Regions from separate parts of the Homo sapiens genome. Here regions 1, 2, 4, 5, 6 and 7 are each linked to region 3. Evidence: promoter capture Hi-C in human tissues and cell types (Jung and others, 2019). All regions are on one chromosome and are shown on one strand. Each heading gives the region's core, a stretch centred on a gene start or on the middle of the fragment in contact. The rest is flanking DNA. Distances are from core to core; before and after follow the strand shown.

What was found. The method cuts DNA at HindIII sites, captures the fragments that hold promoters and counts their contacts. A contact is called where the count stands out against the background at its distance.
Region 1: a fragment that was not itself captured here is called in contact with the fragment with the promoter of SEMA5A in region 3 in 1 of the 25 tissues and cell types used here (dorsolateral prefrontal cortex).
Region 2: a fragment that was not itself captured here is called in contact with the fragment with the promoter of SEMA5A in region 3 in 1 of the 25 tissues and cell types used here (dorsolateral prefrontal cortex).
Region 4: the fragment with the promoter of CCT5 here is called in contact with the fragment with the promoter of SEMA5A in region 3 in 3 of the 25 tissues and cell types used here (bladder, heart right ventricle and hippocampus).
Region 5: a fragment that was not itself captured here is called in contact with the fragment with the promoter of SEMA5A in region 3 in 1 of the 25 tissues and cell types used here (dorsolateral prefrontal cortex).
Region 6: a fragment that was not itself captured here is called in contact with the fragment with the promoter of SEMA5A in region 3 in 2 of the 25 tissues and cell types used here (lymphoblastoid cells and mesenchymal stem cells).
Region 7: a contact is called between a fragment that was not itself captured here and the fragment with the promoter of SEMA5A in region 3, in 2 of the 25 tissues and cell types used here (dorsolateral prefrontal cortex and lymphoblastoid cells).

The regions. Positions count from the first base shown.
Region 1 is chr5:8,859,757-8,862,456 of GRCh38, forward strand. The region is part of intron 1 of LINC02199 (long intergenic non-protein coding RNA 2199); the gene reads left to right. Among named protein-coding and RNA genes, the nearest start is that of LINC02199, 21 kb to the left of the region's middle. The HindIII fragment of the contact is 4,266 bases long and covers 1-2,700 here.
Region 2 is chr5:10,149,003-10,151,702 of GRCh38, forward strand. No RefSeq gene overlaps it. Among named protein-coding and RNA genes, the nearest start is that of ATPSCKMT, 100 kb to the right of the region's middle. The HindIII fragment of the contact is 3,891 bases long and covers 1-2,700 here.
Region 3 is chr5:9,544,666-9,547,365 of GRCh38, forward strand. It overlaps SEMA5A (semaphorin 5A), which reads right to left and starts at 1,410. Exons shown (of 23, transcript NM_003966.3): 1 at 919-1,410. SNHG18 (small nucleolar RNA host gene 18) reads left to right here and starts at 1,535. Exons shown (of 3, transcript NR_045196.2): 1 at 1,535-1,865. RefSeq lists a silencer at 1,344-1,533. The HindIII fragment of the contact is 8,719 bases long and covers 1-2,700 here.
Region 4 is chr5:10,249,030-10,251,729 of GRCh38, forward strand. CCT5 (chaperonin containing TCP1 subunit 5) reads left to right here and starts at 1,251. Exons shown (of 11, transcript NM_012073.5): 1 at 1,251-1,416. The coding sequence starts at 1,312. It overlaps ATPSCKMT (ATP synthase c subunit lysine N-methyltransferase), which reads right to left and starts at 859. Exons shown (of 5, transcript NM_199133.4): 1 at 829-859. The coding sequence starts at 844. RefSeq lists silencers at 629-748, 759-818, 1,569-1,638, 1,709-1,848, 2,179-2,401. The HindIII fragment of the contact is 7,315 bases long and covers 1-1,759 here.
Region 5 is chr5:8,837,781-8,840,480 of GRCh38, forward strand. LINC02199 (long intergenic non-protein coding RNA 2199) reads left to right here and starts at 1,952. Exons shown (of 3, transcript NR_109932.1): 1 at 1,952-2,178. All of the region lies in intron 1 of LOC101929307 (a long non-coding RNA gene), which reads right to left. The HindIII fragment of the contact is 4,416 bases long and covers 1-2,700 here.
Region 6 is chr5:8,883,280-8,885,979 of GRCh38, forward strand. No RefSeq gene overlaps it. Among named protein-coding and RNA genes, the nearest start is that of LINC02199, 45 kb to the left of the region's middle. The HindIII fragment of the contact is 3,399 bases long and covers 1-2,700 here.
Region 7 is chr5:8,761,439-8,764,138 of GRCh38, forward strand. The region is part of intron 2 of LOC101929307 (a long non-coding RNA gene); the gene reads right to left. Among named protein-coding and RNA genes, the nearest start is that of LINC02199, 77 kb to the right of the region's middle. The HindIII fragment of the contact is 5,311 bases long and covers 1-2,700 here.

The sequences.
Region 1 (2,700 bases), core at 101-2,600, 680 kb before region 3:
AAAAAATAAAATTGGACCCTTATCTTATAGTATATTAAAAAATCAACTCAAAATAGATTAAATACTTAAATGTAATACCTAAAACTGTAAAACTACTAGAAAAAAACACGGGAAAATATTTTTTACATTGGTCTGGGCAATGATATTTTGACTATGACAACAAAAGCACAGACAACAAAAGCAAAAACAGGCAAATGGGATTTCATCAAAGTCAATAGCTTCTGCATAGAGAATCAACAGCCCAAAGAGTCAACAGCCTGAAGAGACAATGTACTGAATAGGAAAATATATTTGCAAACCGTGAATCTTATAAATAGTTAATGTCTAAAATGTATAAGAAACTCATACAATCCAATAGCAAACAACAAAACACACACTAAAAAACTAACTAAAAATGCAAATTATTTAAATAAACATTTCTCAAGGAAGACACACAAATGGATAAGAGCTATATGAAAAATGTTCAACATTACTATCATCAGGAAAATGTAAAATTAAAAGTACAATGAGATTATCTCACACTAGTGAGAATGACTATTATAAAAAAGATGAAAGATACATGTTGGCACATTGTAGAGAAAAGGGAATCTTTTACATTATTGATGGGAATGTAAAGTGGTACAACCATTATAGAAAATAGTATAGAGGCCAGGCACGGTGGCTCACACCTGTAATCCCAACACTTTGGGAGGCCAAGGTGGATGGATCACTTGAGGCCAGGTATTTGAGATCAGCCTGGCTAACATAGCAAGACCCCATCTCTACCATATTTCTATGAAAAATACAAAAAAATTAGCTGGGCATGGTGCCATGGTAGTCTCAGCTACTCAGGAGGCTGAACCACAAGAATTGCTTGAACCCGGGGGGCAGAGGTTGCAGTGAGATGTGATCGCACCACTGCACTCTAGCCTAGGTGACAGAAGCTTGGCCAACATGACAAAACCCAGTCTCTACTAAAAATACGAAAATTAGCAGGGCATGGTGGTGCATGCCTGTAATCCCAGCTACTCAGGAGGTTGAGGCAGGATAATCACTTAAATCTGGGAGGCTGAGCCAAGATCATGCCACTGTACTCCAGCCTAGGCAACAGAGTGAGACTCCGTCTCAAAAAAAGCAAGAAAGAAGATAGTGTAGAGGTTCCTCAAAAAATTAAAATTAGAACTACTTTATGATCCAGAAATCTCACTTCTGAGCATATACACAAAGGAATTTAAATCAATATGTCAAAGCAATATCTGCACTTCCATGTGTATTACAGCAATATTCACAGTAGCCAAGATATATAAACAAACTACATGTCCATTGATGAATAAATGAATAAAAAAGTAATATATATTAATGTAATGAAATATTTATATTATTTTTGTGTAGTTTGTACATATACATACATACATACACACAAAAAATTGAATATTATTCAGCCACTAAAACGAAGGAAATCCTGCCATTTGCAACAACATACATGGGCCCAGAGAACATTATGCTAAGCAAAATCAGCCAGGTAGAGGAAGACAAATACTGCATGATCTCACTTATATGTGGAATCTAAAACTTTGAAGTCACAGAAACAGAGAGAAAAGCTGAGAGGAGGTGGCAATGGAGGGATATTTGTCAAAGGGTATAAAGTTTCAGTTATGCAGGTTGTAAACACTCTGGAAATCTAACGCCCAGCAATGAGAGTATAGTTAGCAATACTGTATTATAAATCTTCATAGCTTCCAAAACGTATGCCCTGACTATAAGACCTTTACCACCTATAACATATAAGAATGTTCACCTATTTTCTTCTAATAATTTGTTTTTATATTAAATTTTGGATATATCTAAATTATGAATCTGGCTACATCATATTTTAATGGCTGGCTATTTCCCCCATCAGTATATGTTTCAAAGTACATATCTTTATCACTTACTTAAATGGCTTAATTATTATAAATTCCCTATATAAATATAGGTGTGGTTAGGGGACAATATGCAGGCACAAATTTCTAAGATTTTAATTCCTGCTTTAAATAATATAAATTTGTATATATTTTAATGGAGGATTAGTTTCACTATTTCTCATTTGACAGAGTAAAATTCTCCAGCTGTTTTCACTGTCCTTCCTTAGTGGAATTGTACTTCCCCAATTTCCTGAATTTATACGTGGCCATATGACGTGCTTCAGTCATAAAATGTGAGTGAAAGTGGCACATGACTCTTCCAGGCGCTGCTGTCTGAGCCAGCAGATTCTTCATCGTGTTCTCTTTTTTCTCTGCCTTCCTGTTCACCTATGTTCCAGACAGTTGGAGTCTCACCGGTGTGGGTTTGGCATGCAAATGACACAAAGCAGATTATGGAATGGCCTGAATGTAGAGTAAAATATTTGCTGTTTTAATTACTGAGATGTGAGTGTCACTTGTTGCTAGAGCAAAAATTAGTTTATCTGACAGATACTATAGGTCAGATATGTATTTATTCACTAAAATTTTAGACTATCTCATCAGGTTTAAATATTTTTTACTAGATGGATTGGGCTATTAAGCATATAGAATAATTCAAAATAATAAATAAATTTAGATTATGAATCTTCCTCTGCAAGAGTCTTTCTATTCATGTAAATCTCTTAAGGGGCAATTTTGGGGCTGTTATAGCATAATTTATTTCAACATTTTCCTAATGAAGAATATATAATTATTTTTATCTTTAATCTGTTAATAG
Region 2 (2,700 bases), core at 68-2,567, 600 kb after region 3:
TGGATAGAAGAGAAGAAATTCAGCTCCACACCTTGTCAGAAAAATATAGCATTGAGATTCAGAAAATACACACACAGCCGGGGCATTTCCCTTTCCAATAACGTGTTACTAGTTAGAGTCGACATAACCAATAGAAACATTAATATAGGTTTAAACAAGTGTATCTCCTAGGCAGATCCTTAAATTCCTTTAATTTTACATTAGGATATAAAATCGCTCATTCTAATGGGTTAGTAAATGCATATAGTCCTTCAGAAGCCTCATTGATGAAAACACAGCACAGGCAGAGGGAAATAGACTGTTATTTCTGCTCTGGCTGTATTTCCATTTCCTAATAACAGTAATGAACTTGAAGCATCGTATTTGCACACAAATAGGTCTAGATTCCAGTTTGGCTGCAGCTATACAGTTAAGCGTGTCACTGATGTGCACTTCCCAGCCTCAAAACACAATTTAAAGATCACTTTATGGAGAGTCGAATTACAGCAATGTGCTTAAGCATTAGGGCTGTGGTATTTCTAAAAACTGTTGGCAACAGGGCCAAGTTCTATGGCTCATAAAAGTCGATCACAAAGTTCTGAGCTACTGCAGCTCATTGATTGTGGTTATCCTTTAAGTTTCTTAATGTTCCCACCCATGGTATACTGGCACCCATTCCATTTCTCAAGCTTTGACACTGTTCTTTCCTTCCTTCCCCTTCTCCTTGCTCACACGTTTACAAACGACTGCTCTGGGCCATGCCCAGGTAGAGTCGTGCACAGGTCCTACCCTCCAGCAGCTCAGAATGTGCTTAGGCCGACGCGAAAACAAGTAAGTACAATGTGAATATTGATGCGTACCAGTCACCATGAAAACACAGAACGGGGAACACCTGCTGCCGCCCACCTGAACTGAGCCTTCGTGAACATGAGTTCAACAAGCAAACCATGGGATGGGGGGCAAGAAATGGCATTTCCAGCAGATATAAACGAACACAGGTACATTTTAAAACAAAGCAAATGCACCAATGCACAATGTCCTCAGGAAACAGGGGCGTGATAAGCGGGTGGTGTGGCCAGATGGTAAAACAGGGGCGGGGCTGGAAAGTTAAGGCCGGACGCTGAGTGTCCTTTACTACTAAGCTTAAGAGTTCATACTACAGGCACCTGGGGGCCACCAAGAGGTTTTACTGGTCTGGCTGGTTGTTATTGCTGCTGTTGTTGTTGCTTCGAGTAAGCGGAAGAGATGATAGCAGTGTGGAGGACGACTGTGACGGGGTAGAAAGGTGGGTAGTGGAGGCCGGGAGAGCAGCCGAAAGTCTCTCCCTGCACTTAGGCACAAAACCCCGGTTCTGAATGAAGCAACTGCAGGAGAAGAGGTAAGCAGCTGGCTTCAAGTGGTCTGTAAGCAGGGGCTATACCCCGGGCTTGGTGTCCAGATGGATATAAACAGCAAGAAGAAGGTGAAATAACGGCACAAAATTTCCACCCCAAGGAAACAGACAGAAGCTGATGCCAGTCTTTAAAAACTCAGGAATATAAAAGGAAAAACTGTTTAGGAGATCAGAATTAATTTGACTTTGGACGTTACGTTTGCATATCCATAGGGAGAAGCCCACAGGCCACACCGAGGCAGAAGAGACTGTGGGTGTAGAATTTGTGAGGGTCCCAGGGAAAGAGGAGAGGAGGGCTCAACAATCGGGTAGTGGTCGTGTCCAAGGAAGCCGCAGCTGAGACCCTGGAAGGGGAAGCCTGAGTTCAAGTCAGCATGGAGTGCCAACAGGCTAAGCCAAAAAACATCTCGTGCTGTTGGCAAAGGGCTGGCCCAGAAGAAAGCGTCGCAGGTTATGTATGGGCCTCAGCGGAACTGGGCCTTCCCAGAAAAGGGAGAAGAACGAGGTCACAGGTGAAGAGAGGAGGTGCTGGCACCTGTCAGAGTGGAGGCGGAGGACCTGAGATTTGCCTTATCAGATGGGGTGGGATGGGATGAGCTCAACTGAAGATGCACCAACAAGATAGGCACCAAGGCCAGGCACAGTGGCTCACACCTTAATCCCAACACTTTGGGAGGCCAAGGTGGGAGGATCACTTGAGCCCAGGAGTTTGAGGCCAGCCTGGACAACATGGCAAAACCTTGTCTCTACTAAACATTTTTTTTTTAATGGTCGGGGGTGGTGGTGTGCCCTTCTAGTTCTAGCTACTCTAGAGGCTGAGATGGGAGGATCACTTGAGCCCAGGAGGTTGAGGCTGGAGTGGGCTGTGATTGTACCCTCAATTCCAGCCTGGGAAACAGAGTAAGACCCTGTCTCAAAAAAAAAAAAACATAAAAATAATTAAAATAAAATATTTAAGAAGATGGGCACCTAAAGGGCAAATGGAAATGAGTCTGGAATTCAGGAGAAAAGTCAGAGGAACAGGGACAACTACACTGGTTCCCAGAGTAGTTTAAAGAAAAGGTGTTCTGGATGTATAATCAGGAAGAAAAGTTGCATTTTTCAGCAAAATATTGACATCAAGTATTTAATTCTTTCTTCATATATAATAAAGATACCAAGGAAATCTCTTTGTGAATCTATATGATTTCAGTTTTAATTTTAAATAATATTTAGTAATAAAGAAAGTACTCAGATGATTATAAACTAATAATCATTTTTCAAAAAAAAAAAACCATGTTCCAATTAATTTTATGTAGATGTGGTTTATACTGAATGGGCTGTCTTGG
Region 3 (2,700 bases), core at 160-2,659:
AGGACGCCGCAGGCGCAGGAAAGTTAAATCCCAACTCCGGCCGCGGCATCCTGGTACAAAGCAAGCAAAGGGCGAGGAGGTGAACGCGCTTCCCGCCAAAGCCAGGGGAACAGGGATGTGACCGCTCCAAGCCAGGCACCGGCCGCCGCGGGGAGCGAGCCGGGGGAATCACTCCTCCACGACCGTTCCCACGCACATCTTGGGAGAAACCATTCCCTCTGGAGCCCGATCTGCCCGAAACCCTGGGGTCTGAAACCCTGAGCCGCGGTGTGCAAAATCCGTGGAGCAGCGGAGGGATGCCTGGTGAAAGGGGCTCGCCTAGCTGCAGCGCACCTGGCTGGTGGTTCCCCAGGCCTCTGCATCCCCCGCCTTAGTGTCTTTCATTAACCAAGGCGCTTGGCGGAGTTGAGCCCAAGTCCCATTGCCTCCCGGTTCCCCTGTAAGGAAAGCAGGAAAACCTGCCCAAGCCGGTGGGGCTGCGAGGTGGCCGCTCCCGAACCGCCAAGTCCCGACCTCCGTGTCCCCTGCCCCCGGCTCGCGGCAGTGCGAGCCTGGAGGCGCGCCGGGGGCGGGCACAGACCAGTGTGCGCACCTTTCCGGGTGTTGGGCAGGGGTCCCGTCTCGCCCACCGCGACACTCCGGCTCCTTACCTCTCCATGCTCAGACCTCGGCACAGGCGGGTACACAAACTTCCAGCCCGTGCACTAGCTCAACTGTGGGCGCCCCCGGACTGACGGTCGTCCTAATCCTGTACGCGCAACCCCCGCCCAGGTGCCTGCTGATGGATCCCACCCGAGATCGGCACCACCCACCAGCCGACCGCTGCAGTCCCCGGGTCCCGGCCAGCGGCGCGGCGCGGCGCGGCGCGGTCAGGGGCTCCTGCCAAGGCCACGCAGGAATCGGGCGGGGGTCGCTCACCAGGTGCGAGGAGCGCTGGTGCCAGTCATCCAGCGCCTGGGGGCCAGAGCGGCTCCGAGGATCCTCTTCAGCACCTGGCTAGGGAAGTGGAGGCAGCAGCTGCAGCCGCCCCCTGCCACTTCCCCAGAGCCGCCCCCTACTCGCTGAGTTCCAGAATGGGGGCACCGGCTTGGGGGCCACGAGCACGGTCCCCGAGCGCGCGGCCAACCGGTGGGTGGGCAGGTTCGCGCCCAGCAGAGACGACCCTCGAGGTGGCAAAGTTGGGTGTCCAAGCCAGCTCCGCGGGGCAGTCCTGGGTGGGAGAAGGGAGCGTCCCGGGATGAGCGACACTGGCCGGGCCGCCCCTGCACGGGGAAGGTGGAGGGCCGGGGCTGCAGCGGGCCAAGGGCCGCGGCTGGCCTGAGGCTGCGAAGCCCACCCGCGGCGGGAAAGCAGCGCTCGGGAGCGGGCTCAGGGAGAGCAGCCGCCACCGGCGCCGCCTTCCCGGCAAGTAGATCGGCGCGGGGCGAGCGGGCGCGGAGAGCGCGGGGCGGAGAGCGCTGGGCGGGGAGCGGGGGACAGCCTGGGCCCACCCCCGCCCCGCCCCGCCCCTGCCCCGCCCCCGCCGCCGCGCCGCCTCCTCCTCCTCCTCCTCCCCGCCGGGGTGAAACTCGAGCGCCCCACCCGCGCCTGACCTCCCCGAGCCCCTCCCCGGGCCCCGCCCCTTCCCGGTACAGGACCCCCACCTTCGCTCCTGGGAGCCCCGCTGCACCCCAGGAGTTCCATTCCAGCCTCCCCAGTGCGAGTGCGGCCGAGCGCTGACTTTTGGGGGCTCCCTCCCCCGTCTCACTGGGTCCCTCTGCGGCTCCCCCGCCCGCTGTCCCGGTTCAGACGTGGCTGCACCCCGGAGGGGGGCGCCGGCCGAGACCTGAGACGTGGCGCTCCCTCTCTGCCGGCCTCGGCTTCAGGTACGTGCGGTTCCCTCGGCTAAATCTGGCCCGGGGGATGGGGGGCAGGGGCCGTCTGGTCCTCCGGAACTCGAACTTTGTGATTTTGTTCTTTCTGTGTGACATCCTCATCCGTTCTGAGGGAGAAACTCCTTAAAGAAGACGAGAGAGTCAGTCGTTGCGGGTTCTTGGAGGAGCACTTTGGGGGTGAGACTCCCGGCTAGTTCGGGTCGATTTCAGCGGGATTAAGTCAAGGAAATGAACAAATCTGACGAATCAGGGAGGCCAGAGAAGGCGTCCCCAGGTAGCCACGCTGAGCGTTAAGAGAGAAGTCCCGTATGGTCAAAGTCATTCGTCCAATTCTGTGTCAATTATTCCTTGTTGCACTTTTGCAGGATCCTTGGGCCTTACTAAGTACTCAGGTGAAAAGTTGATAATTGGGAAGCAAGTAAAGTACCTTTGAAGACGTGTATAATTGGACACTTTGTTGCAGTTCTTCAGTTTCTGGAGGAGGCGGTGGGGGGGGAGAGGGAGGGGGTCAGCCTCGCGAAAAGAGCAAATGGTAAAGTTATAGGAGTATAAGGCATAAAACTTGGGTTGGGAGTCCTGACTGGCCTTGAGTGGCCCTTTCCCACTGGATGGGGGTGCGGGACAGTATCTCTGGGCCCTTTTTACTCAGTCTGCGCCTCAGAGGGAGGCTTGAAGGTCCCCTGCATGAGGAAATGTGTGAATTGCCCCCTCCTGACCGCAGTGAGGTAGGGACCCCCGCAAGGACCCACGTTCACACCAGCGCCCTTCCAGCCAGTGGTGGGGTATGGATGGGCCTCGCTGGTCCTGGGCATGGTCCGGTGCGTCC
Region 4 (2,700 bases), core at 1-2,500, 700 kb after region 3:
GACCTAGACGGGTACATCACTTGAGGTCAGCCGTTCGAGACCAGCCTGGCCACTACGGCGTTAACACCGTCTCTACTAAAAATACAAAAATTAGCGAGCGTGGTGGTTCTGTGCCTGTAGTCCCAGCTGCCTGGGAGGCTGAGGCACGAGAATCACTGGAACCCGGGAGGCGGAGGCTGCAGTGAGCCGAGACCGCGCCACTGCACTCCAGCCCGGGCTACAGTCTTGTCTCAAAAAAAAAAAAAAAAAAAAAGAGTGTGGGACCCATTGCATCAGGCTGTGTAACTGTTTCTTACTAGCTGTATACCAGTGGCAAGTTACTGAACCATTTGTGCAAAATGTTAATTTATTTACCAACACTGTGTTCAGCTTGCCAGGCACCGTTCTCCTTGAATCTCACAGCAGCCCTGTGAGTAGGCACTACTGTTACCACCGTCACTTTGCAGACAGGGAACCCGAGGGACAAAGAAGTTAAGGGATTTCCTCAAAGCCACAGCTAGGAAGAGCGGCAGAACTGCGATTCCAATCCATCAGTGTGCCTCCACTATCCCTATTCCTTAAGATCGTGCCAAAGGCTGAGTCACTTGCACTAAGTAGCCTAGAACAGTCTCTGGGGAAACGCGCCCGCCGACAAGGATCGCCAGAACCGGCGCGGGCACCGCGCGGCGACCAGGAGCTCTGGTCACCGAAGGCCAGGCTGGAGGCCAGAGCAGCCGCCCGCACCCGGTCACCGCCTCGACAGTGGAGACCTCAGCTGACCGCGAGCCCCCGGCCCGCCCGCACCCCTTCTCATGCCCCCAGGAACCCGCCAAGCCGCTCCAGCCTCACCTCCTCCTCCCTCCATCGCGAGATTTCCAACAGCGTTTTTAAAAAAAAAAAAAAAAAAAAAAAAAAAAAAAAAAAAACCGGAAATGGGTCCTACCATCTTCTCGGAGCCGGAGTGCGAAGAAATAAAGAAATAGTGCTTTAAGTCAATGAATTCCTCCTTGGGACCCACTATCGAGAAACTATCAGTGGTAACGTTTTAAAAAATGACAAATTCAATCTGCTCTTGACTTGTGTGTCCTAAGATTTCCACTAAGTGTCTTCAAACCTCCCCCTCCCCGGCTTCCTGGATAATAGAAGTTCCCGAAGGCCGCCGATTCCAGAAGATACTGTCTGGCGTGAAATTAGTCTCAGTAGAAACATAAGTCCCGCGCGTCTTGTGCTGCGCGTGCGCAAGCTTTTGGGCCCTCCCGAGAAAGGGAAGTGCATTCTCGCTTCCGTAGCGGTCTCCGCCGGTTGGGGGGAAGTAATTCCGGTTGTTGCACCATGGCGTCCATGGGGACCCTCGCCTTCGATGAATATGGGCGCCCTTTCCTCATCATCAAGGATCAGGACCGCAAGTCCCGTCTTATGGGACTTGAGGCCCTCAAGGTAATGGCACAGGGACCTGCTCGCGGTGGGCTAAGGGGAGGTGGCCGAGGCCGTGGCTCTGCGCCTGCGCGAGTTGAGGAGCGGCTCTGCCATGTGCTCCCCGGAAAGGTCGAGAATCTCCGTCTCCCTGCGGTCTCCGGCCGCTCAGCCCGCTTACTGAGCTCGGGAGACGCCGGCGCCTAATCCTGGGCTCGGAATGTGGGGGCCAGCCAGGCTGGGCCGCCAGCGCCCTTCGGAGCTGGGTGGGGCCGCTCAGTCCGGTCGCCCGCGGGAGCAAAGCGGGACCGCCTCCCCGCCCGGCTCCTCCAGCCTGACGGCCGCGTGGGACTGCGCTCCAGTGGGAGGGCGCCGGGGAGATGCTCTGTCACCTGTCGGTTAAGGCGCTGCTGCTTAACCTTTCGCTGGTCCACCCGCAACGGCCCTTCCGTTTTCTTTGTCACTCGTAAAGGTGTGGTCACTTAACAGGGTATTTCATTTCTGAGTGCTTTTTTGCCCACCCTTGAGGAAAAATAGCGAAGAGTGAAAAACGGACGCACATAACCGTAATACAAGGTGGTGTGCAGTGAGAAGGACAGCTACGGAGAGGGTGCACATAAGCGTGGTGCTGGAGGACAGCTTTAGATCGGGGTGAGAGGTAGCATTCTAGGGAGAGGAAACGGTAGAAGTAAAGGCTTGGGCAAGAATGCGCATGGCACGTTGTAGAATGGAAGAGCCATCCGGTTTTAATGGAGCACTGACTTCTTTAACTTACAATAGTTCCCGAAGGTGGAAGCTATTGAATGCCCAACATGGAAAATACGACGTTATCTTTGGGGAAGAAGGGGAGCCATTGAGGGGGTTTTGAGCAGAATTTCAGTAGAGCTGCACTTCAGGCAGCAAAGCTTGAGATAGACCGAAGGGAATAAGGAAGACCAGAGGGGTTAAAGAAACCAGGGCAGGGGTGCAGGTAAGAAACATCTGAGCACCAGACGTTGACAGAAAATGCAGAGGAAGGGACACTCCGAGAGGGCCTTCAGGGTTTGTTATAAAGTGAATTCATAATAGACCATTCCACTAGGTCTCTCAGGTGTCCCTGTTCACTTAGTGTCTTGGAGGTTTACTTACGCAAAGTTAGAAACAATACAGTTCCCCTATGGACTCTTTGTTTGACTTAGTGCTAGTTACACAACCTCGCGGAACCTCCTTTTCCAGGGGGAGGTGATAGGCCTCCGTCAAGCTGAAGACTTGACAGTGATATTAAATGGAGTGACTTAGAGGGGCTGCACAGTGGTTGATCCACGGTAG
Region 5 (2,700 bases), core at 162-2,661, 710 kb before region 3:
GCAAAGATCATATTGTGTTGCAGATAAATTTAGGATCTTTATGACCCAGGTGATTGACATGTATATGTACACATTATACATATGTATACATATTTTCCAAAATACATATTTCCCAAAACTAAGAATTTAAATAAAGGGTATTTGCTGAAAGGATGGGGGTTGTGTGGGTGAAAAAAGTATTCTCATTAGTTACAATTCAAAATGGTTTTGTTAATTCTCAAACACACATTCTCCCATTTGGTCAATTATGAAGTGCTGTTCTGTTTATTGCTGTATACCATCTGAAAACTAAAAGGATTAAAACAACAATTTGTGATTGCCTTTCACAGTTCTGGAAGTTTATAGTTCAGTTGGACATTTCCCTCTTGGGTTCCTCCATCAGTTACAGGTAGACTGGGGCCGAGGCTGGAAACATCTCAAGGCCTCTTCACCCATGTACCTGACATCCAGACTGAGAGGTCTGGAAAAGCTGGGGTAGATCAGGAAGGCACCTTCTCCATGTGGCCAATTTGGGATTCCTCAAACCATGGTGCTCTCCAGGTAGTTAGGCTTCTTATTTGGCACCTGGATTTTTACAGAGGGGGTGATCTAAAAAAATCACAGCAAATGTTTCACAGGGTCACAGAAGCTTCCTATAACTTAGTCACAGAAGTCACACAGCATCACCACCACCACATTCTCTTGGTTACAGAGGGCTGGCCCAACTTAGCGTGGAGAGGACTACCAGGAGGCATGGTTCATTGGTGCCACCTGGGAGCGTAGCTACTGAGAGGTTATATTCACGTACTAGAGGGCAGTGGAGACAAGAAAATGTGTCACTAAAGGCTGTCTGGGGACTAAAGAAAGTCCTCATTATTTTGAAGAGGGATGTTTGTTACACAAGGGATCCCTGCTATGGTATGTCATCGAGTGGACACCACACAGGAAGCTAGTTTAACTAAAGAGGGAATTCATTTTTTACATTTAACTACTAACATTTTGGGAGAAAGCAAGAAACAAGATGAGCACTGAGCGTTGTTATTATTATTTGAGATGGAGTTTCATTCTTGTTGCCCAGGCTAGTGTGCAGTGGTGCGATCCCAACTCACTGCAACCTCTGCCTCCCAGGTTTAAGCAATTCTCCTGTCTCATCATCCTGAGTAGCTGGGATTACAGGTGCCTGTCACTACGCCCAGCTAATTTGTTCTATTTTTAGTAGAGATGGGGTTTTACCACGTTGGCCAGGCTGGTCTTGAACTCCTGACCTCAGGTGATCCACCCACCTCGGCCTCCCAAAGTGTGAAGATTACAGGTGTGAGCCACTTTGCCCAGCCTGCATTGTTATTTTTTGTTCACAGAGAGAGTAAATAACTAAAATGCTTCTTCAAGTCGCAGGTTACATTTAATAGCAGAAAAAGAATTTCAGGAACTGTTACTTATTGCCAGGAAATAAGGGGCCAGGTCAATGCTCAGAGCCTACCATACCCTTGAAGATTCCTAGCAATTAAGTGAACTATTAATTTCTGGATTCGGAAACCAGAAACAAAACTTTGCCTTCTTTACAGATAAGGGGGACACTGTATCATCTGCTGTCCGGTGTCAAATGTCACAATGAATGGTCTGTTCTCCCCTGTGAATTTGTTCTGTGGTCATAACTGTATACAGGAATCACTTTGGAATCCTCAAAACCCCCGAGCCTTGTGTTAAACCCCACGAGTATTTAGAGTTTTACAACTACGAAGCTGAATGTCGAGAGAAAAAGACAAAGATTCCAAAAAAATGGTCTCAAAGTACCTCCTTGTTTAAGTTGGCTGCCAGGCAAATCAGCTCATCTCCAGCAGAACAGAAGCCGCCTTTTCAGGGAAGCGTGGCAGCTGCCGGCGAACACAAAGCAGCTCTGTGATGGTTGAAGCCAGCAAAGAAAAGCGCCCCCTCCGAGTGGAATCACAGGAAGGAAACCTCCGTGGGCAGCAGGAGCAAGTGCAATCCCTGGAGACGAGTCGAAGGGGCCCGAGGCCCCGAGAAGGGCAGGATGCGATGCTGGGTGTGTGACCTCAGCCATGGAAGGGCCACCTGCCACCGGGGGGCTGGGCCGTCGGGCCTTTGGTTGTGGAGGGAAAAGAGTGGCCACTTGCTGGAGCTGGGAACGTGCAGTGATGAGCACTAGGACAAGAGGACCGTGACAAACAGACATAGAAGGTAAAACTGCCCGAGTACAGGCTGATCCACAGACCTGTGTCCAGGGAGAGGCCTCAGGATGGATTTGGAAATGCAGGACAGGTTCATGAAATCCTCACACACCTGCCACATACTCAAGGAGGGTGCTGTTTACTTGATTGATTGTGCTGGTCCTGAACATCTGACATGATTTGTGGTTATAAATGGGTGTTTGCCGTTAACTATAAGTATCTTGGAGTAATTTAACAAACAACAATAGGTATTGGGGCAGGTCAGCGCGTCTCCACCTGAAAGACAAAGGAAAGCCGTGAACGCAGGACCAGCAGTTGTGGCTCACGGTGAGAGGTGACAGCGTGGTAGCATCCCTTGCTGGCTCTGGGCGCGTCCTCGGCCTCGGCGTCCGCTCTGGCCGCGCTCAAGGAGCTCTTCAGCCCGCCGCTGCGCTATGAGGGCCTCTCTCTGGGGCTGGCGGAGGCCGGAGCCTGCTCCCTCTGCTGGCGGGGAGGTGTGAAGAGAAAGGCACTGGCTGGAGCCGGCGCTGCG
Region 6 (2,700 bases), core at 34-2,533, 660 kb before region 3:
CTAAACCTAGGGCTATAAAAATAAACAAGTCCAAGGTCTTTTTTTTCCCAAGGGGACAAATCTAGTTGGCTCTGAGGGTTTAGATTCTTTATTCTTCTAGGAGTTCCTGAGGTAAGTGGCTCAGCAGGTCAGAGTTAATTCAATAGAACAGGCTGATACCAGCCACTGCTAATTCTTCCTGACAAAACCATTTTTAAACAGAGAGCATCCATTGGTACTAGTTACACAAGTGCTCCATGCTCCCAAGCCATATACATATGCGGAGCATCAGAGACATGAAGGCGCTGTATACCAGCTTGTTGGCCATAGGTATGAAGACTATGATGTTGGGTACTGAGAGTTCAAGGGTGTGTGTGCCTCCTACTTCTCTGATCCTAAGCTTGTCCCCAGTAAACTCCATGCTCTATCTGTACCACATGCTAGTGGTGTTGACAGTAACCCCTTTGCACAGCTCAGGAGGGGCACAGACAAGTAAAGAGCCAACCAACGTAGTCTTAAAGCATATAAAACAGCATTATTTCGCACTGCTGAGAAAGAGCACTAATACCATCAGCATTCTATGGGGCAGTTTCACGAAGATTCTGCCGATTAAGGAGGGCCCTAAATACTGAGTAAAATTTGGATAGAGGCAGGGAGGAGGCATTTGGAGTGAAGGCAAGTGGTTGAGAAGAGTGTAGGGTGCTTGGCTGGTGAGAAGCTTTTAGGGCTTGGATGTGTGTGCTCTCAGCAAATCACATCTGCCCTTTGCTAAGGACGCAGGGAGTAACTGTGCATTGGTTTATGCCACAGCCTTCCTAGAAATATCAACACCAATAGAATAGTTATGAACACGAAATCCTACAACATAGAGCTGAAATGCATCTGAGATCTATTAGAATGGTTTTTTTCTCTTCAAGCTGATTTTCCACCTTTCTTTCAAGGCATTGCTTTCTCTGAAGGGGGCAGCCTTGAACTTCTACACATAGCACACACTCTGTTAAACATTCATATATTTTTAAAGTTTGGATTTTACTACATTTTTCTTATAATTATGGTTTGGTATTTGATGGTAATAGGTAGGTTCTCTACCTTGTTCTCTTCCAGCAAGTAGGTTCACATTTTTGTATTCTGGAAGCTCTGGGGTTTGCATCTATTGCTAAAATAGAGTCAAAGTTGTCGGCATCAAAGGAGCAAAGCTCAATCCCCTTTAAAATTTCTAAGAAAACACCTGTGTCTAAATGCCAAGTAAACAATTTAATAATAATGTGACATTCTATATTTTCTAATAAAGTTTTTTTATGTCACTTTAGCAGAATAAATATCAAGAAAAAAATAGAAAGGTCACCTAACTGATTCTTTCTCAAACCACACAGTACCATTGACTAAAGTAAGAGTTTTAATTCATCTAAATTTCTCTGGACTGTTGAACAAAGGTTTTATAGATTTGAGGTTATGTGAAGATTATAAACTTAATAATACAACTCGACTTCACATACCCTAGCTTCTGCCTATAGACCATGACTTGGTAAAAAGGGCAGATGCACATGTTGTATTAAATATGAAGTTAATATCCATCCTCTCATTCCAACTACCTTCTTTTCTTAACATGAAATTTACTTTGACCTTCTCAAATAATAATTCTCTGTAGCTAGAAGAGGGCAGGGAAGGATAAATAATGAATGTTACAAAGTGATGGGCAGGCAGGGTAGGGGGGTGGGGGAATGACCTAGAATGTTAAATCTAGCTAAATTTATATTATGAAGGCAAAATAAAGACATAATTTAGTTCAAACAAAATCAGATGCAATCTTTTTTAGCCAACTTTCTCTACAAGATATAATAGAGAAATTTCTTCAGGTTGAAGGAAAATTATAGTACGTTAAAATTTGTATATACATAAAGGAATGTGCAGACTTGGAAATGATAAATATCTATGTAAATAAGACAAGTATTTTAGGTTTCTATTTAAAATATAATTAACAGTTTAAAGAAGAATTTCTCAAACACTTTTGTCTCATCATACCTTTGTAGTTGTGATAATTATTGAGGATCCTGGATAATTTGTTGATGTGGATTACATCTACTAATATTTTCTGTATTAGAAATTAAAACTGACATATTTATTAATAATATCTATTAATGAAAATATTTATTTATTTGTTTAAAACTAGTAATAATAACCCCATTTTATATTAACAAAAAATAATATCTTTTTAAGAAAAGTAACTATATTTTTCAAGGAAGAAAAACAATTAGTGAGGAGAATGGCATTTAAAAAATATTTTGCCAATCGCTTCAATTCCAGACTTAATAAAGAGCAGCTAAAGCATAATATGTGCTTTTGCATTTGGTCTGTTGCAATATCGTATATCATGTAGCCTTTGAGAGAATGAGAATGAAAGTGTAAGCAGTGTCTTACAATTATGAAAATAGTTTCCACCTCATGGATACCCTGAAAAGATCCTATGAACCACAGGAGACCCCAGACTGCACTTTTAGAACTATTTGTGTAAAGCAAAAATAATAGGACTGTACTTTGAAGTTTATGACATATATAGAAATAAAATATATGAAAACATTAGCATATAGGTTGGAAGGGAAAAATGAAAGTAAATTTTGTATGATTCTCATCCTTTACCTGTGGATTTATAATATAATTTAGAAGTAGCCTGGGGTAAGCTAAATATGTGTATTGGAAAGCCTAGAGCAATTATTAAGAATA
Region 7 (2,700 bases), core at 188-2,687, 780 kb before region 3:
TCTCTGACTTTGCCTGCTACTATCCACATAAGACATGATTTGCTCCTCCTTTCCTTCCCACCATGATTGTGAAGCCTCTCCAGCCACGTAGAACTACGAGCCCATTAAACCTCTTTTTCTGTATAAATTACCCAGTCTTAGGTAAGTCATTATCAGGAGCATGTGAACAGATTAATACACCCTCCCATCACAGGCAAAGAGGCATAGGAGGTAAAAATTGTTTCATGGGCTGGGCCCAGGGCCTTGCTGCTTTGTGCAGTCTCAGCACTTGGTGCCCTGCATCCAAGCTGTGGCTAAAAGGGGAAAATGTACAGCTCAGGTCATTGCTTCAAAAAGTACAAGCCCCAAGCCTTGGTGGCTTACACATGGTGTTGGGCCTGTGGGTACACAGAAGTAAAGATTTGAGGTTGGAACCTCCACCTAGATTTCAGAGGATGTATGGAAATGCCTGGATGTTTGCTACAGGGGTGGGACCCTCATGGAGAACTTCTGCCAGGGCAGTGTGGAAGGGAGATGTGGGGTCAGAACCTCCACACAGGGCCCTCACTAGGGCACTGCCTAGTGGAGCTGTGAGAAGAGAGCCATCATGCTCCAGATCCCAGAATCATAGATCCACTGACAGCTTGCACTGTGCACCTGGAAAAGCTGAAGACACTTCAATGCCAGCCTGCAAATGCAGCCTGGAGTGTAGGTGTAATCTGCAAAGCCATAAGGGTGGGGCTATTCAAGGTCTTGGGAGCCCACCTCTTGCATCAATGTGAGCTGGATGTGAGACACGAAGTCAAATGAGATTATTTTGGAACTTTAAGGATTAATGACTGCCCTTTTGGATTTTGGACTTGCATGGGGCCTGTAGTCCCTTTGTTTTGACCAATTTCTCCCATTTTGAATGGGTAAATATACCCATTCAATGCCTGTATCCTCATTGTATCTAGGACATAATTAATTTGCTTTTGATTTAACAGGCTCATAGGGGAAAAGGACTTGCCTTGTCTCAGATGAGACTTTGGGCTTGGACTTTTGAGTTAATGCTGGAATGAGTTACGCCTCTGGGGTACTGTTACGAAGGCATGATTGGTGTTGGAAAGGCATAATTGTGTTTTGAAATGTGAGGACATGAGATTTGGAAGGGCCCAGGGGTGGTTTACCTCATGCTGTTCTCATGATAATGAGTGAGTCTCACAAGATCTGAGGGATTTATAAATGTATGGCATTTCCCCTGCTCGCACTCATTCTCTCTCCTAACACCCTGTGAAGAGGTGCTTTCACCATGATTGTAAGTTTCCTGAGGCCCCCCAGCCTTGCAGAACTGTGAGTCAGTTAAATCTCTTTGCTTTATGAATTACCCAGTCTCAGGTATTTCTTCATAGTGGCATGAGAGTGGACTAATACAGTCATAGAGTCAGATAGACCTTGGTTTGGGCCTGGCTCCACCACTTTCATGTGTGTGACCTGAGTCAAGCTTCTTCATTCCTATAGTCTCAGCTTCACCATCTGTGCAAAGAATGAAAATATCTCTTCTCTCTTAGCACAGCTTAGATAAATGAGGACATACATCTAATGCATCATGTCTGGCACATGCAAAGGTTAAATTAATGTAAAATGTCATTAGCAATTGATTAAAATATATTAAATTACAAAAACTAAAATAAATATATGCTCTTCACCTTTGTTGTTGTTTTGCTTTGTTTTGTTTTGTTTTATTGAGATAGGGTCTCACTCAGTCACCCCGGCTGGAGCGCAGTGGCGCAATCTCAGCTCACTGCAACCTCTGCCTCCCAGGTTCAAGCAATTCGGGTGTCTCAGCCTCCCAAGTAGCTTCTATTACAAGCATGCACCACCATGCCTGGCTAATTTTTATATTTTTAGTAGAGAAGGGGTTTTACCATGTTGGCCAGGCTGGTCTAGAACTCCCAGCCCCAGGTAATATACCCGCCTCGTCCTCCCAATGTGCTTACAAGCATGAGCCTCCATGCCTGTGCCTGCTCTTCATCTTATATAAAATTCAGGTTAATTAGAAAAATATCTATTCTTTGGTCTTATTACCTTAAATTAAGAAACCTCTGCTTTTTTTTTTAACTTTAAATTCTGGGATATATGTGCAGAATGTGCAGGTTTGTTACATAGGTATACGTGTGCCATGGTGGTTTGCTCAACCCATCATCTAGGTTTTAAGTCCCGCAGGCATTAGGTATTTCTCCTAATGCTCTCCCTTCCCTTGTGGCCCACCCCCTGACAGGCCCCGGTGTGTGATCTTCCCCTCCCTGTGTCCATGTGTTCTCATTGTTCAACTCCCACTTATGAGTAATAACACGTGGTGTTTGATTTTCTGTTCCTGTGTTAGTTTGCTGAGAATGATGGTTTCTAGCTTCATCCGTGTCCCTGCAAAGGACATGAACTCATTCTTTTTTATGGCTGCACAGTATTCCATGGTATATATGTGCCACATTTTCTTAATCCAGTCTATCACTGATGGTCATTTGGGTTGGTTCCAAGTCTTTGCTATTGTAAACAGTGCTGCAATAAACATACATGTGCATGTGTCTTTATGGTAGATTGATTTATAAGTCTTTGAGTATATACCCAGTAATGGGATTGCTGGGTCAAATGGTATTTCTGGTTCTAGATCCTTGAGGAATCACCACACTGTCTTCCACAATGGTTGAACTAATTTACACTCCCACCAACACTAGTTTTAAG